Regions from separate parts of the Homo sapiens genome. Here region 1 is linked to region 2. Evidence: promoter capture Hi-C in human tissues and cell types (Jung and others, 2019). All regions are on one chromosome and are shown on one strand. The core of a region is centred on a gene start or on the middle of the fragment in contact, and the rest is flanking DNA. Distances in the headings are between cores, read along the strand shown. Region 1 overlaps TRIT1 (tRNA isopentenyltransferase 1). Region 2 holds the start of MFSD2A (MFSD2 lysolipid transporter A, lysophospholipid).

Region 1 (4,983 bases), core at 1,075-3,574, 79 kb before region 2:
ACTTTAGTACAATTAATATTTGGGGCCAAATAATTCTGTTATGGGAAGTTGTCCTGTGCCTACTAGAATGTTAGCAATGTCTCTGGCCTCTACCCATTAGATGCCAGGAACCCACCTCCCCAGTTATTAGAACCAAAAATGTCTCCAGGGATTGCCAAACGTCCCCTAGGAGGCCAAATCACCCCAAGTTGAGACTACTGATATAGCTATATACATTAACATATAAAGATATCCATAACATAGTGTTAAAAGAAAATAGAATAGTATCTAACCTCTGAGTCAATTTATGTAATAACATATACACACATGACACATGTGCTTAAATATATATACAAATGTCTGGAAGGATGTGAACCAAAATCATTACTCCAGGATGCTAAGACTATGGTTAAATTGTCTCTGTACTTTTCAGTATTATTGGATTTTTTTAATAAGCATGTCTCATTTTTCTTTTCTTTTTTTTTTTGAGATGGAGTTTCGCTCTTGTTGCCCAGGCTGGAGTGCAATGGCGTGATCTCGGCTCACTGCAACCTCCGCCTCCTGGGTTCAAGTGATTCTCCTGCCTTAGTCTCCTGAGTAGCTGAGATTACAGGCATGCACCACCATGCTTGACTAATTTTTTTGTATTTTTAGTGGAGATAGGGTTTCTCCATGTTGGTCAGGCTGGTCTCGAGCTCCTGACCTCAGGTGATCTGCCCGCCTCAGCCTCCCAAAGTGCTGGAATTATAGGCGTGAGCCACTGTGCCCGGCCCCCGCATGTCTCATTTTTCTGAACACAAAAATGCTTTGTTCTCATTTTTTTCATAGTGCTTCCAATTCAATAACCAAAATCCTGTTGGTTCTGTTTACAAAATATCAAAATGGTTACCTATTCTCTCCAGCCAAAGCCCAACTCCAGCCTCTCTCACCCAGACTAATGTAACAGAATCCTAAACTGTTTTTCCTTCTCTAACCCACTCTCCACCCAGTTACTTCATAAAATAGATTTACAGGCCAGGTGCAGTGGCTCACGCCTGTAATTCCAACCCTTTGGGAGCCCGAGGTGGGCAGATCACGAGGTCAGGAGTTCGAGACCAGCCTGACCAACATGGTGAAACCCTGTCTCTACCAAAAATACAAAAATTAGCCAGGCGTGGTGGCATGCGTCTGTAATCCCAGCTACTCAGGAGGCTAAGGCAGGAGACTTGCTTGAACCCGGGAGGTGGAGGTTGCAGTGAGCTGAGATTGCGCCACTGCACTCCAGCCTGGGTGACAGAGCGAGACTCTGTCTTGAAAAAAAAAAATAGACTTACTACCACTTCCCTCTTTAAAACCTCAAACCTCATGGCATGACTTTTGAGGGCCTCAAAAATTTGTTCCCAGGGTCTATATTTTTAGTTTTACCTCCTACCACTGTCCCTCAAGTACCCTCTATGCCAGATAGTTGCTGGTCATTCCTTGAAAACATACCATGCATTTTCTTAACTTTGCCCATACTGTTCTTTTGTCAGTAATATTATTCTTCCCACTTTTCTGCTTGATAAAATGTACACAGTGGTACAGAGGAAAAGAATGGGATGGAGGATGAATGAATAAATAAATAAGAGTTAGAGGAAAAAGTATAAAACAGCATGGAGATGAGGATTTAATAAAGTAATTTTTGGTAGGGAGGAGACAATAACAGCACCCACGGCAAAAGGCTACGGTAAGGATATTAGATAATATTTGTCAAACTTTTAGAACTGCCTGACATATATATTATTCTTGCTATTATCTTCAGTAGTATAATTATTATGATCATTCCTGTAATGAGGGCTTGAACTCTGACTGCCACAATGAGGGAGGTACAGGGAGGCTGCTACTCACAAGCAGAGCCCCAAAGGGATCAAGAGGCCAACAGGGTCCTGGTCTGATTCAAGTTTCTGAGGAATCCAAAACTACACAGAAAAACAAAACCAATTCCATTAAATCATAATGGAGCACATATGTGAATTCCTATATACCCCAAGTAACTTTTACTCCTCAAATATATCTTTTTGAAGTGGAGCTGCTTCAACACCCTGCCTCAGGCACTGAAACATCAGGGTAGCACTCATCCTCATGAATCTGAATCTGCAAGCCTCATCTGTGCTCTCCTATGGTTTCCTGTTTGGCCAGTAGTCACTTCTCCTTCCTTATATAACACAGATTTGACTCCAAAGTTCTCCCTGTAGGTGCAAAAACATGACCACATATGTACAACATACACAGCTTAATACTGCAGCCAAAAGAAAACTAAATTCACTTACAATGGAGGTGAACCAAGGGACCTAGAAACTCATTATTTATATGTGTATCTATCTATCTATCTATCTATCTATCTATATATATATATGAATGATGAGTCGAAAATTTTGAGATTTCCTTTTTAGCCTCTTGTAAGTCTCAGTCCTTCTAAAAGACTGCCTTTGGCTGGGTGCAGTGGCTCACGCTTGTAATCACAGCACTTTGAGAGGCCGAGGCTGGCGGATCACCTGAGGTCAGGAGATTGAGACCATCCTGGCTAACACGGTGAAACCCTGTCTCTACTAAAAATACAAAAAATTAGCCAGGCGTGGTGGCGGGCGCCTGTAGTCCCAGCTACTCAGGAGGCTGAGGCAGGAGAATGGCTAGAACTTGGGAGGCTTAGGTTGCAGTGGGCCGAGATGGAGTCACTGCACTCCAGCCTGGGTGACACAGCAAGACTCCATCTCAAAAAAAAAAAACAAAAAAAAAAGGACTGCCTTTGTCAGTTGTGGCAAATACCTTCCAGATAGACCCCTTTTCTCCTGGTTAATGGGTCTTCAAAAAAAAAAAAAAAAAAAAAAAAACAGGTCTTCAAGCCTTTTATTTCACATTTTATTAAGCCACTGTGATCCACCATCCCATCTCTCCTTTCATATCCCTCCCCCAAGCATCCCATATCTCCCTTGATCAGACAGTCTTTTGGTACAAACACTGCTCCTACAGTATGTCCCAAAGCAAACAAAAAGAATACAGAGGCCAGGTGGGGTAGCTCATGCCTGTAATCCTAGCACTTTGGGAGGCCAATGCAGGAGGATCACTTGGGGCCAAGAGTGTTCAAGATCAGCCTGGGCAACATGGTGCTTCTATTAAAAAAAAAAAAAAAAAAAAAAGAACAAAGAGCTCCACATCTATTGGATGACGAGATGACACATATTCTGCTTGCTTACTAGTCAGACTGCCAAAAATCATTTGTTTCTCCTCTTGTAGGTTTAAACAAACACAAAAGGAACTGTGCTCCTATGTACGGCTACTGCTTCTCCACAGGACTTGAAAAACTGAGGCATTAGAGACACTTCCTCTCTATAAACCCGAACAGAACACTTTGTTTCTTTTCTCTTAGCATATAGTTGGTAGTTTGTATTTCCAGGCCATCATTGTACATGTTTGGCAAGGGCCTTCAATTTTCTCAGTACAATGTTTCATCCAGTCACTGAAGGCCCGGCACTGTACCTTGAATTTACAAGCCAAGAAAAAGACTCAGACTGAAAAGAAGACCTTCGGTATCATCTTCCTGAAATACATCAGACTCTACAAATGAGTTAGAAGACCCAGATCCAATTCCCAGTGTCTTGCAGTGTGATCTCTAGACAGCTCTTTAATCTTCTGTAGCTCCAGTTTTTCCATCCTGGAAAACAGGGATTGTATTACCTGTCCCTCCTTGAATTCAGACTCTTACTACTGAATGAGAATATTTTTATTTCTATAATTTGTGAAACAACCAGCATTCAGAAGACTCAGAAAATAAAGCACAAATGTTGTTTCTCACTTCTGTCAGAATGGCCATGTAGAAATCCTCAGCAAAACCCAAGAGAAATCCCAAAGAAGGTAATCCCCTCAGAAAGTAGTTCTGACTTCCCAATCCACAACTACCTTGCATAAGAATCATGGAAGGGCATGTGTTTTCAGGACCTCCTGGGGCTGTGTCATAGAAAAAAAAAGAAAAAGAAAAAAGAACACTGGGAAGAAAGAGGACAGGCAGTACCTTCAGATGCTAGATGGCTACAGAAGCAAGTCACTGCATATCAGGCTACATGAAGAAATGATCACCATAGACACAATACCTTTAACAACCCCATTGTAGTTTTACCTCAAAGCTTAAAGTACTTATTCAATGTTTACAAAAACAAATACTTTCTCTGGATAGGAACTGCCCTGTAGGTGCTGTAGGGTTGACCTTGGGTAGGTGTTGCCTTGGATGACCCTACATTTTAAAGCAGGACAAAGGGATGACAAAAGCAGTATGAAGTACGAGACAATTTAACATTTAAGATAGTGTTGTACAATAGTTTCTGAGTTACTGGTACACTTCTGAATAGAAAATTTTCAGCAGCACACCAAAAGGAATTATTAAAATGCAAATATTGGTTTTAAAAAACCCAATTTAGAAACTTGAAAAAACTTTCTATGATCACACTTTCTATTTGGTCACCCTTTGGTGTGTTACAACAAAGAAGTTTACTGTTCTGTCTAGGCTCTCCACAAGTCCAAGTTTACCCTTTGTTCCAATAAACACTATCTGTCTTTGATACGAACTTGACATTAGATTCTATTAATATCTCTTAGCTGCAGCAAATTTTATCCCCAAAGTACATCAGGTGGCTTCCAGTCAGCTCAACACTCCACTTGACAGATATCACTATGAATTAACACTGTGATTTACAATATGAATCCTAAAATACATCTTTTTCCTGATCAAAATGTTGCACACTCCTAAGAAGGATAACTGGCATACAAGTTAAAAACTCCTGGCCTGGCGCAGTGGCTCATGCCTGTAATCTCAGCATTTTGGGAGGCCGAGGCTGGCGGATCCCGAGGTCAAGAGATCGAGACCATCCTAGCTAACACAGTGAAACCCCGTCTCTATTAAAAATACAAAAAATTAGCCAGGCGTGGTGGCACACGCTTATAGTCCCAGCTACTCGGGAGGCTGAGGCAGGAGAATCGCTTGAACATGGGAGG
Region 2 (4,935 bases), core at 220-2,719:
GTGGTATGGTGTGACTGTGGGAGAGAAGATTTGGGGGCTGCAAGGGAGCTTAGCTAACCAAGCCTGGAGAGGGGAAAAGAGACAGAACAGTGTCACACAGCTTGGAGTAATGGGGCCAGCCATTCCCTTTCCACAGTATTCAGTGCCTCACTTTGGCTCTCTTCTGCTCAGCAATGGCCAAGAGCTGTGTGCCCAGATGGGATCTGCTGGCGTATGAGGGAGCATGGTGTGACCATCCTGGGGCAGATAGACCTTATCTCTCCTCCCTGCAATCAGAGATTTAAAGAAAGGAAGAAGGAGGCTGACATTAAGGAGCACAGGAACCGGGTGGGTAGCCTTTGAGAGTTCCAGCAGCCCCTTCACTAATCAGAGAACTGGAAAGACCGGGGTGACATTGACATAAGGGACTCAGAGGTGGAACTAAAGACTGTTCTTTTCTGGCATCCGTGCCTGCCTTCTGTTCCAAACTAATGCCCTCCCATCTTCTTTTGAGGACCACATTTCTGGGCATTCTCTTTTTCAAAACTTTCCCTGTTTCAACCCTCAGTGCCTCTGGAGCCATGTATCTCCCAGGGCTTCTTGTTGGGAGACACATACACCCCATTCTGCCGTCTGTAATTTATGCTAAGAGGGATAGAGCAGGGCTGTTGAGAGCAACTGCTTTGGTATCGGACAAAACCTTTCAGGCCTGGCTCTGCTACATAACAGTTGCTTCACTTCTCCAAGTTTCCCCTTCCTGTGCTGTAAAATGGGGATAATAATAGTACCACCCTCACTTGGTGGTTTTTGAGGGCCGAAAGAGATCATATTAAGCATGGAGGAAGCTATCCATAAAAAGGCCACTGTTGTCATAGTGTACTAGCGGGCGTAGCCCCGGCTTCTCTCCACGACTTGGGAGCTCCCTTCTGGCAGGGGCAGCCACTGGATTGCCTCATCTTTCTCCCCATTGCCCGGATGCCAAGGGCAGGACGGGGGAATGGTGTGTCTTCGGGGATGAGAGAGAGGCATCAGGAGGGAAAGTGTCAGCGTACGTCCTCTAGGCTTGAAGAAGGAGAGAGGCCCTGACTCCAGATTTTAAAGTGGGCTTCAGAGCCCCTACCTTTCCTAGGCCTGGGGCTCAGAAGTCATGGGTGGTAGGCCCGACTCGGGGAGAGTCGGACCTTGGGGACCTCGGGGACCTCGGGCAGATCGGGGACCCCGGGCAGATCACTTTCAGCCTGGGGCCTCGGTTTCCTCGCGCGTGTCTGGGAGGTCTCGCGGCCTGCTTCTCGGATTGCTAGGAGCCAGCGCAGGCAGATGCCGGTTCCGGGGCTTGGAGAACGTGGCTCGGTGGCACAGAGCCGCCGGGCGAGGCGGGGGCAGGGAGGCGGGCGACGGGATTGGCTGGAGGCGGGGCAGCGGGGCTCGGGGATTGGCCGCAACCGAGAGGGCTGGGCAGAACTATAAGAGGCGCGGAGGGGGCGTGCAGCAGAGTGCGTTCCTCGTCTGCCAGCCGGCTTGGCTAGCGCGCGGCGGCCGTGGCTAAGGCTGCTACGAAGCGAGCTTGGGAGGAGCAGCGGCCTGCGGGGCAGAGGAGCATCCCGTCTACCAGGTCCCAAGCGGCGTGGCCCGCGGGTCATGGCCAAAGGAGAAGGCGCCGAGAGCGGCTCCGCGGCGGGGCTGCTACCCACCAGCATCCTCCAAAGCACTGAACGCCCGGCCCAGGTGAAGGTGAGGGCCCGGCACCCCGCGTGGAGGGCGAGGGGAGGGAGGAGGCGGAAATGGGGGATCAGGGGCGTCCCGGGGTCGGCCTGGTCAGGGGACCATTGGGATAGCCAGGGACAGGAAGCCTACGAGCCAGAGAGGACCTGGGGGTGCCCTGGGACAGGGGGTGACGGAGAAAAGCTGTGGGCGCCCTCGCCCCCCTTTGCTCACCCGCACTCCACGCTCTGCGGAGAGGCTCTGCCGGCAGCCCCATGTGATTCCCCGCTCTGCCTAGCCGGTTTCCATTCTTCCGTGTTGAGCGGCTGGGGCTTGCCGCCCCAAACCCCAGAGATGACCCCAGAAATCTGGGAAACTCCCCTTGGTTCCCCATCTCTCATCCCCTACCTCCCACTCCACCCACCTACTCTTGCGCCTCAACTCTGCTGTTAGGGCCGCTCAAGTTCATTCATAAGAACAAGAGCTCTGCTCTTAAAGGAGCCGCGTCCCTCAGGCATTTGTCTGAATGTGGATGTTCGCGCGGGAACGGTGCTTTGCGCATCGAGACCATCGACCACATCCCCAGCCCTGGGGACTTATTGAAGGACCAAATAAAATGAGGCGGCCCCCTAGGAAAGGATCTCAGGCAATAGATACCTTCGTGGGAGGTGACTGCCTTTTCCTTTTAATTTTATTAACTGATCTTTGGAAGGAGCTGGGTGAGCAATTATGCTGTTACTATGTATGAGTAATATCTACTTTCCCTGGGCAACCCAACCTCCCTAGTGCCCCACCCGGAGAGGGATCAGGCCTGAACCTGGAGGCCTTTCCTCCCGTCTCCAAGGTCCTCTAGGAGCTCAGGGGTGGAGGGCGATGGGTCGGGAAGCTGGAGAGTAGGACAGTTCCTGGGTCCGCCTGAAGCTCTGGCTGCCTATAGTGGTCAGGGATGCTCTGGGATAGGTGGAACAGCTGCGCCTGCAGCCAGCTGGGCCGGGCCCCCGTAGCTCTCTAGAGCTCTCACCAGGAGTAGGCAGGTGGATCCTGTCTCTGAGGCAGGGTGGGAGCCTGGGCTGGGCTCAGGCAGCTCTTGGCAGCAAGCGGATTTTCAGGTTGTGGCAGCTGGTGCCGGGTGGGGACAGGTCGGCTGCTGGAGCATGCTCCCCCTGAAACCTGGAAAGGAGCAGTGCCTGAGGCCTTGGGAGGAGTTCTTTAGGGATGGTGGGCTGATAAGTTTCCTTAGAATCTCCAGGAGGGAGGTGGCTTAGGGGCTACTTTCACACAAGTATGGATTCCCCTTTTCCATGTTCCTAAGAATGGAGAACACCTTTCTTTTGTATAAAGTGGGATCTCGGAGATCGAGACCATGCTGGCTAACATGGTGAAACCCCGTCTCTACTTAAAATACAAAAAATTAGCTGGGTGTGGTAGTGGGTGCCTGTAGTCCCAGCTACTTGGGAGGCTGAGGCAGGAGAATGGCGTGAACCCAGGAGGCGGAGCTTGCAGTGAGCCGAGATGGCACCACTGCACTCCAGCCTGGGCAACAGAGCAAGACTCTGTCTCAAAAAAAAAAAAAAAAAAAAAAAAAAAAAAGGTGGGATCTCCTGGATAGGAACAGGTCAAAGCAGAGTTGTTTGTTCTGGTAGAGCTGGCCAGAGGGATGGTCCTTCCTGTGGAACCTTCTTGGATGGAGGCCAGAACCTTGGGCCTTTCATCTTTTCCTCCTCTTCCCAGAAAGAACCGAAAAAGAAGAAACAACAGTTGTCTGTTTGCAACAAGCTTTGCTATGCACTTGGGGGAGCCCCCTACCAGGTGACGGGCTGTGCCCTGGGTTTCTTCCTTCAGATCTACCTATTGGATGTGGCTCAGGTGAGTGGTCTAAGCCTTCGAGGGCTCCTTCAGCATCCTGAGGTGGGAAAGACTATGCACCCCTGGGTCAGTTCGCTCAGTTTTCCCCATCTGTGAAATGGGACCCCAAATCACTACTTTGCTGCCTCTGAGTCAGTGAGCAAGAAATGAGAAGACCCTGGAAAGTATCCAGTAAAGGAGTGTCTCCACTCCAGGAGTCTTTGCTGGAAAGGTCTGGCAACTCCTCCTTGCCTGGCATGAGCAACAGAGCCTGAAGGGGTAGGCGGTAGAATGAGGGAGAATGGGGCCTGCTGGGGATGCTGTTCTTAGAAGAGACTGGCACACTGTGTTCCTGGCTGGGAGATAGTCAGCTGGCTTGACTCAGGGGTTGGTGGCTGTTGCCAGGCTTGTGGATGAGATGCATCCCACCTTTACCTGAGGAGCAGAAGGGCACTTAGGTGCCAGGCTAAGTTAGAATGCCCCAGTACACAGGGTCTTTGACTGGGAGGGGTACTTAGGGTGAAACAGGACTATTCTGTGCATTGAGAAGCCTTGGCCAGAAGCCTGGCATCCTGAGAATTCACCCTGTCTGGATGGGAGAGTGGGAGGCAGAATAGCCATGACTACCGGGGCTCCTGCACCAGCTGTCTTCTCTGTGTAGCATCTAACTTGGCAAGCATCGCATCTTAGTTGTATCCATTTACAGAGGGGGAACACTGAACTCCAGAAGGAACAAAAAACTTCAGCAGCTAATTTTTGAGTAACTCCCATGGGCTGGGCCTTGGGTGGGGTGTAAATATGAGGAACCTGCAGTCAAAGTGTAAACCTGTTGTAGTGGGTGTTAGAGCTGGGGTTGGGGGGTTAGACTAGGGAGACTATGGTATGGGGAAGAATACCCACTCCCCAGAGAAATAGCAATAGCAGGGCTTTGATGGATAAGGAGGAGTCTGGAGAGTCTGTATTTAGGGCCTGGGGGGTTTTGGGGCGGGGAGGGGGATAACTTGAGTGGGTAGTGACAAGTCCCTTTTTAAAAAGCATCTATAGGCTCCTTTTTCCACATCCAAGATAGAGCTTGAACCTGTAAGGTAGAGCTCATAACTCCCATTATACAGATGGGAACACTGAAGCACACTGTGTTCACCCCGTGAATGCTCATTCTGATATCAGGTGGTCAGGAGCTCAGGGCTGAGAGAGGGAGGGAAGGAAATGTTTGTGGATTCATTTGAATTGATGGGAATGTTTTCAAGGGCAGTGGAGGGAAGCAATTAAGGAGACAGAGCTGGGAAAGCTTCTAAGGAGGCACCCAGTGCTACTGTTATTGGAGAAATGCTATTGTCATTATTAACAAGGCAAGTGAAGATGTGTAAGGTCCATGTGGGAGCAGCTCAGGGTCACAAGATCCTGGCTGAG

The links. Contacts are between HindIII fragments. The study calls those that stand out against the background at their distance.
Region 1: a contact is called between a fragment that was not itself captured here and the fragment with the promoter of MFSD2A in region 2, in 5 of the 25 tissues and cell types used here (H1 embryonic stem cells, IMR-90 fibroblasts, hippocampus and 2 more).

The regions. Positions count from the first base shown.
Region 1 is chr1:39,874,217-39,879,199 of GRCh38, forward strand. The region is part of intron 1 of TRIT1 (tRNA isopentenyltransferase 1); the gene reads right to left. Among named protein-coding and RNA genes, the nearest start is that of MYCL-AS1, 6.4 kb to the right of the region's middle. The HindIII fragment of the contact is 6,954 bases long and covers 1-4,983 here.
Region 2 is chr1:39,953,676-39,958,610 of GRCh38, forward strand. It overlaps MFSD2A (MFSD2 lysolipid transporter A, lysophospholipid), which reads left to right and starts at 1,470. Exons shown (of 14, transcript NM_032793.5): 1 at 1,470-1,710; 2 at 3,412-3,546. The coding sequence starts at 1,618. RefSeq lists a silencer at 1,292-1,421. The HindIII fragment of the contact is 9,041 bases long and covers 1-4,134 here.